Regions from separate parts of the Homo sapiens genome. Here region 1 is linked to region 2. The links are contacts of gene promoters, found by promoter capture Hi-C in human tissues and cell types (Jung and others, 2019). All regions are on one chromosome and are shown on one strand. Each heading gives the region's core, a stretch centred on a gene start or on the middle of the fragment in contact. The rest is flanking DNA. Distances are from core to core; before and after follow the strand shown.

What was found. The method cuts DNA at HindIII sites, captures the fragments that hold promoters and counts their contacts. A contact is called where the count stands out against the background at its distance.
Region 1: a contact is called between a fragment that was not itself captured here and the fragment with the promoter of ERGIC1 in region 2, in 1 of the 25 tissues and cell types used here (hippocampus).

The regions. Positions count from the first base shown.
Region 1 is chr5:172,969,069-172,972,901 of GRCh38, forward strand. It overlaps RPL26L1 (ribosomal protein L26 like 1), which reads left to right. Exons shown (of 4, transcript NM_016093.4): 4 at 345-703. The coding sequence ends at 473. Among named protein-coding and RNA genes, the nearest start is that of RPL26L1, 12 kb to the left of the region's middle. The HindIII fragment of the contact is 7,277 bases long and covers 1-3,833 here.
Region 2 is chr5:172,832,247-172,835,996 of GRCh38, forward strand. It overlaps ERGIC1 (endoplasmic reticulum-golgi intermediate compartment 1), which reads left to right and starts at 2,005. Exons shown (of 10, transcript NM_001031711.3): 1 at 2,005-2,187. The coding sequence starts at 2,168. RefSeq lists silencers at 1,858-2,257, 2,628-2,677, 2,688-2,767 and enhancers at 2,751-3,743, 3,238-3,447, 3,744-3,750. The HindIII fragment of the contact is 25,389 bases long and covers 1-3,750 here.

The DNA.
Region 1 (3,833 bases), core at 21-2,520, 140 kb after region 2:
GTGTTGGGATTACAGGTGTGAGCCATCATGGCCGGCCGATGGCTGTGTCTTTAAGCTGGTTGCAAGAGGCTTCCAAGTGTTCTAGGCATCACTTCCCCTACCACATAATATTCAGAGGAATAAGAGAGAATATATCTTCCTGTAGCCCTCATGCCTACCTAGTGGAACATGCTATTTTTCCTTTGTGTTCCTATTTTGTATTGTGTTACAGGGTCTGTTTTCCTTCCAGAGTTTCAGTTCCTTAAAAGCTGAATGGCTGAGGTCTTACTTAACTTATGATGTCTATATTGCTCAATAGCTGGTGGGGATGCAGAAATAAAGACCTGTTTTCTCACTCCCAACAGGTGGTTATCACCAGGCTAAAACTGGACAAGGATCGGAAAAAAATTCTTGAACGCAAAGCCAAGTCTCGACAAGTTGGAAAAGAGAAAGGCAAATATAAAGAAGAACTTATTGAGAAAATGCAGGAATAAATAGAACCTGTTGTGCAACCACGGTTTAACCGGAGATTTTGAGGCTAGGGTGTGTTTCTTTCGAACTTTTCGGAATGTCTGGAACATTTCATTTCCTGTTTTGTTACCTGTGCCTCTGTAAATCTACTTTTGCAATTTTAAGTAATAATTTTATGAATAAAAATGGGAAATGCTTCCTAATTCCACATAGTATTTGCATTGTTTTATAAATAAATTCCACTTACTATCAATTCCCCTTTGCCAGTCTTTTCCTATTTAATGTGTGGAACAGCAAAATCGCAGGGGTAGGGTTAAATGGCCCTCCTCTTGCCTGGACTCTTGTGCTGATGAAGTAGAAAGGGCAGGGCTCTAGTCTTATATAGACAGGCCTCATCATCTTGCCCAGGCTGGTCCTGAACTCCTAGGCTCAAATGATCCTCCTGCCTTGGCCTCTCAAAGTGTTGGGATTACAGGCGTGAGCTGCCATGCTCTGGTCCTTGACACAGGGATTTGCCCCACTCAGTAGCAGTTGTAATGTGCACTGTCACATCTCACGCCTGACAGATTGCTCTCTGGCCTCCTGACTTGGGCTTCCCCAGCTTTCTCTCCAAGTGCCAACTAAACCAAATCATGTGCAGCTCCCTGACCAGGCTTATCTTCCCAAAGTTTTGACTTTGCAATTGCCATTTTCATGTGACTAAAAAGCCCCTTTTCCTCTGGAACTAACTTGAGAAACTGGCAGCCTACAGGAAAGATTTAACTGAGATACTGTTTTTCACTATATTTTCCAACATTTAAAATGTGGGAGACTCCACAGAGAATCACCTGCTTCACCTGGCTCCACGGGGCTCTCCCTGTTTTGCAGTGTTAAGTGCAGCCAAGGGCTTGGCGGTTCCCTATCCCACCTGCTCTGCTCCCATACGCTTCTTGCCTGGCCTCCATTGGCCTCCGCATTAGACTCCTGGTCTAACTTTCAAGCAACTAAATCTTCAAGATTTAGTTCCTTTGGCCAGGCACAGTGACTCATGCCTGTAATCTCAGAACTTTGGGATACTCGTGGGAGGATGGCTTGAACCCAGAAGTGTAAGACCAGCCTGGTTACTGAGACCCCACCACTACAAAAAAAAAAAAAAATTAATTTTTTTAATTAGAAAAAAAGATTTAATTCCTTTGAGAGGTATGTAGTGAATAAAAATTTTTAGAAAATGTATCTCCAGGGCCACATCCAAAATCCTCTGTCCCTGTGGGAAAAAAAAAAAAAACTTTTTTTGAGATGGAGTCTCCATCTTGCTTAGGCTGGAGTGCGGTGGCGCTATCTCAGCTCACTGCAACCTCCGCCTCCCGGGTTCAAGTGAACCTCCTGCCTCAGCCTCTCAAGTAGCTGGGATTACAGGCCTGCGCCACCACGGGGTTTCCCCATGTTGGCCAGGTTGGTCTTGAACTCCTGACCTCAAGTGATCCGCCTGTCTCAGCCTCCCAAAGTGCTGCAATTAACAGGCATGAGCCACTGCACCTGTCCTAAAAAAAAACACAAAAAAATTTTTTTCAAGAGAGGGTCTTGTTCTGTCACCCAGGTTGGAGTGCAGTGGTGTGATCTCAGCTCACTGCAGCCTTGACAGCCCAGGCTCAAGTGATCCTCCCACCTCAGCCTCCCAAGTAGCTGGGATTACAGGCATGTGCCACCACACCCAGCTAATATTTAAATTTTTTTGTAGAGATGGGAGTCTCAGTATGTTACCCAGGCTGGTCTCAAATTCCTGGCCTCAAGTGATTCTCCTGCCTTGGCCTCCCGAAGTGCTGGAATTAGACATGAGCCACCATGACTAGCCTAAAAAATAATAATGTATTGATTAAAATGTATCAAACAGCCTTTTATGACTTTCTAGTAATGGTTTATCTGACACACTGGAATTTCTTAATAAATGTTAATTGAATCAGTGTTGTTTCCCATTTTGACTGATGAAGAAAACAAGCTTAGGTTAACTGTCCAAATCACAGCATAAGAAATGAAGCCAAGATTTGAACCTGAGCCTGACTGCATCAAAAGGCCATTCACTTCCCACATTAGCCACTTATCTTTAGTCTTCCTTCCTTCACTCTTGTCAGCCTTTCACTGGAGTCTGATAAGAGACTGCATATTTATGTGGAACAGACAAGAACCTATGTGTTTGCAGCCGGTAGTGCTACTTAGGAAAGCATTATCACCAACTGTCCAGGTCTAATCCTAGCTCTGCCACTGGGCAGTCATCAGCCTTTGAGCAAGTTACTCATCTCTGGACTTCTAAACAGATGATAATACCTGCTCTGCCTTCTTATCTCATCGAAAATGCAAAGATAAAATGGCAAGATCAGATGGGCCGTTTCTGAGTACTCTTTGAAAGCTATGAGTATACAAATGTTAATTTCACTATCATTGTTCAGTTTACTTATATGTCCAATTCTGACATTCACTCTGCACTCAAAGAGGCAGTTATTTTTCAGAAAAGAAATCAGTGAGTTTGGCAGGGCGCAGTGGCTCACACCTGTAATCCCAGCACTTTGGGAGGCCAAGGTGGGTGGATCACCTGAGGTCAGTAGTTCGAGACCAGCCTGGCCAACATGGTGAAACCCCGTCTCTACTGAAAATACAAAAATTAGCTGGGTATGGTGGCGCACGCCTGAATCCCAGCTACTTAGGAGGCTGAGGCACGAGAATCGCTTGAACCCGGGAGGCGGAGGTTGCAGTGAGCCAAGATTGCACCACTGCACTGTAGCCTGGGAGACAGAGCGAGACTGCATCTCAAAAAAACAAAAAAAATCAGTGAGTTCAAAAACCACAAAACTCAAGATGTGTTCTCTGACTTGGCATTGATACACTGAACTCACTGATACAAGGTAGACAGATACTGTCCTGTCCCTGGAGTCAGACAGATTTGGGTTCAAATCCTGCTCTTGTTCTTGGGAGGTCATTTTTCTGATTCTCTGTTTTTCTATTTATGTAAAAAGCTGCCAGACACAGTGGCTCACGCTTGTAATCCCAGCACTTTGGGAGGCTGAGGTGGAAGGATCGCTGGAGCCCAGGAGTTTCAGACCAGCCTGCGTAACATAGTGAGACCCCATATCGACAAAATAATTTAAAAACTAGCCAGGTGTGGTGGCCCATGCCTGTAGTCCCAGCTACCCAGGAGGCTGAGGTGGGGAGGATTGTTTGAACTCAGAAGGTCAAGATTGCAGTGAGCCATGATGACATTGCACTCTAGCCCGGGCAACAGAGCGGAACCCTGCCTCAAAAATAACAAATAAATAAAAGAGTAGGTGCCCACCATACAGCAGCTGTATAATCATTAACATGCTGAGCTATGTATCTAATGAGTATAGTGAGTAGGTTAACTAGTAAATTCT
Region 2 (3,750 bases), core at 755-3,254:
GCTCACTGCAACCTCTGCCTCCCAGGTTCAGGCGATTCTCCTGCCTCAGCCTCCTGAGTAGCTGGGATTACAGGCGTGTGGCACCACGCCCGGCTAATTTTTGTATTTTTAGTAGAGACAGGGTTTCACCACATGTTGGTCAGGCTGGTCTCGAACTCCTGACCTCAGGTGATCCGCCCACCTCGGCCTCCCAAAGTGCTGCAATTACAGGTGTGAGCCACTGTGCCCGGCAGGAACTTAGGCTCTTTTTGTCTTGTTGCTCTGCTCTGTGGTGGCCTCCACCTTATGGTCCAGGATGGTGACGCCTACATTCCTGGCAGCCAGATGGAGAAAGGGACACAGAGGGTAAAGCAGACATACCAACTATCCCAGATGCCCCACAAGACACTTCCCTTTACTTCTCAATGCCACATCTAGCTACAAAGGAAGCTGGGGAAATGCAACTTTCACTGTGAGCACCCACATGCCCAGCCAAAAGTTGGGAGCTCTATCCCCACTCGAAAAGAGCAATGATAGTCAACCCTGTCTTGCATTTACTCTGTGCCAGGCATTTGCTGACCTTGGATATCATCCCAAATGCACACTTGATTCAGTAGGTCTGGCCTGGGGACAAGAGTCTGTCCTGTGATGGCCATGTGGCTGGTCTGTGGACCACAGTTTGAGGAGGGAGGATTCGAGGTCAAAGATCCATCATTGCATGTTTCCTCCCACACAGGGCCAACGAATGGCTGTTTGGAAGCAGTGGCTGCTCAAGATCCCTTAACTCTCCCTGCTGTCCCTAGGTTTCCAGTTCAGGCTGAGATTTCCTTTTCTCCCCCAACAGTGTCAGACCACTGACACTGAATGAATGAATGAATGAATGAGTGAATGAATGAAAAGGGAACGCAGAGGTCAGGTCCCGGCATATGCTCTAGGGGAAGGCTTTGGTTCACCACGTCACCCTACCCCAGACCCCGTGCTAGTGTTGTCCCTTCTGAATCCTCCCGGAGGAACCAGCACTGCTGTTCCCCTCTATTTACACAGGGGGAAACTGTCCATTGACTCTGCTTTTGGAACCCGAGCCCTCACCATTCTCCCCTGGGTTTTTTGAAGCCCTGTCCCACCACAACCTTGGAGAAAGGGCCAGTGACAGAACCTCGGGGAAGTTCAGAGTGAGTTTCCCCTACTCAGGTCTTGTGTGACCTCAACTACCATCTCCTCTAATCCAGCAGTCACGGAGGCAGCTGCTCTGTATTCCTGAGGAGGAAACTGAGGCTCTAAGAAGGAGACAATCGGCACAGTCCACGTTGGCCAAGTCACAGTGCAGGTCCCATCTGCCTCTGCCACAACCCTGCATGTTCTCGATGGACCTGGTTCAGAGCAGATGCTCTGTGAATGCCCACTGGAGTGAACGACAGGGGCAGATGGAAGCAGGGACAGCCACTGCCAGCCTCAATAGTTTCAGGTGCCTGGCACTGTGCTAAGCCAGTCTCCTGTTTCTCAGCTGATCCCCAGGAAAACCCCCTCAAGTAGGTGTCATCGTCCTCTTTGTGCAGATATGCAAAAGGGGCGGGGCGGGGGGGGGGCGCTCTGAGAAGCCCAGTGGCTTTCCCAGAGAGACACGGCAGGGGCAGAGGTGAGTCCACCTTAACAGCCTAGGATGGCCGACCTCTTCCCTTCCCCCACAGTATTAGGCCCTCACTCAGAGCTAGACGCTGTGCACGGCCAAAGTCTGTATCACCCCGCCCCCCGCCCCCAACTCAATCACAGTTCAGTGAAACTGTTTACAAATGCAAAAAACTGGGCTCGGAGAAGCAGAGAATTTGTCCGAGGGCATCCAAAGAGATGGAGAAGGAAATCTAAGTGGGAGGCTTGAAGGAATGAGTACTGGAGTCTTTGGGGGACTCCCTTCCCTTCCGACAGCCTCGACTCTCCGCCCCTTCCCTGCCTGCCCGCGGGCCCCTTTAACCGGGTGGCGGAAGGGGCGGCCGGGCGGGCGGCGCCCAATGGGCTGCGCGGAGCGTCACTTCCCGGCAGCGGGAGGCGAGTGGCGAGTGGCGAGTGGCGAGTGTCAGGGGGGCGGCCGGCGGGGGCGGGGCGGCCGGAGGAGGCGTTGGCAGCGGGCTCGGACCCACGCGGCGCCGCGGCCCGCCTGGCCTGCAGCGCTCCCACCCCCGGCGGCGGCACGATGCCCTTTGACTTCAGGAGGTGAGTGTGGCGACCCCGGCCAGTCGGGAGTTCCCTCAGCGGGCAGAGGGAGCGCCCCGGCACGCCGCGGACCCCTCCCGCCCTGCATGCAAAAGCGGCTCCCCGCCCTGTGCATGCCTCCGCAGGCCCCTAGGGACCCCAGGCGAGCCCCCCCCCTGCCGCACACGAAGCCAGCCAGAGCCGCGGAGGCCCCCTCGTGCAGCGGGAGACAAATCCACCCACCTTCCCTCCGCCGAGCCCCCTCCCCAGCCTGCCCGGATACCTTGCATTCCCCTCCCCCACACTAGGAAACATTTCCTCCCTCCTCCCAGATGGGAACAGCCCATAACACCCCAGCATCCCTCTCCTCCCTCTACTGAGCCTCCTTGGTGGACCCCACCTCAGCTGACAGGTGGGGCAGGGCACCTGGAATGAGTCCGGAGGGGCCTGGGGCCCCATGCAGCCTGCCGGCAGCTGGAGGGTTTTAAGTTTCTATAGCCTGAGGCTCCCCCAGGCCGGGCAGATCGGGAGGCCTGCCCCCGCCCCTCCCTCCCTCAGCCCCAGCCCTGTCCGCTGGGTATGGGGGCACCATGGGAAGGGGAGGAGGCGCCTTGGGCAGGACTCTGCAGAAGGGCCACCGGGGTCTGGCCTTGGCTTTCTGCAGTCACCACAATGGGTCCTTTGTGGGGTCCAGCTGCCTCATGGTCTAGGTTGCATGGGGCATTCTGGAAGCCTGCGGGGGAAGAGATCTCCACCAGAGGTTCCCTTGAGGTGTGGAGCCCCAGGGGATGTCCTGGCCTGAGGCAGCCACACTTGGTGTCTGGCTGGGAAAAGAGCAGGGCTTTAATGCAGGGAGGAGCTGGATTAGAATCCTGGCTCTGCCCTTTCTACTGAACAGCTCGGTATATTCTAGAAGTTAGGGGCAAAGGCTCTGGGTTCAGAACTCCCTGTCGCCGCTCGGCTGGCTGACCTCAGCAAGTCTCCGAGCGCCCTCAGTTTCACCACCTGCAAATTGGGGCTAAAAATAAGGTCTCCGCTTGTGACGACTGAGTGCGTGAAACACCCTTAGCAGAGTCTGGCATGATTTAGAGCTCAGAAATAGGGCATTAGTGGATGGGGGGTGTTCTCCAGGAGGGGTTTTCCACATCCACAAAATAGTGATTCAGATGCCTGTGCCACAGGAGGTATTTCTTCCCCTCTTCTTGCATGTGAAGGCAGTGTAAAGTGACAGTCTACCCAGAGAGAAAGGCCCTTAGCCTGCCATGACCCCCATAGCATGGGATATATTGGGGTTTAGGCCCAAAGAGGACACTGGTCTTGGACCTCTTGATTGGTTGACATGGTTTTCCAGCCTGTCCGGGTCCCTGATACCAGCTAGCAAATGTTTGCCGGCTTCTTGCCCCTGCCGGGCAGCCCTGAGGCTAGCAGACCTAGGCAGTTTTGAACAAGGACAGCCCCTCTGGTGGAATTCAAGGTCAGTCCTAATAGCATCAGTTAAGTCTGGGCCATAAGAGCTGTGGTCGGCACATCAATTTCTGGTTCCACAAAGCCTCCCCTTACCCAGGCCAACCATAGGGATTCGTG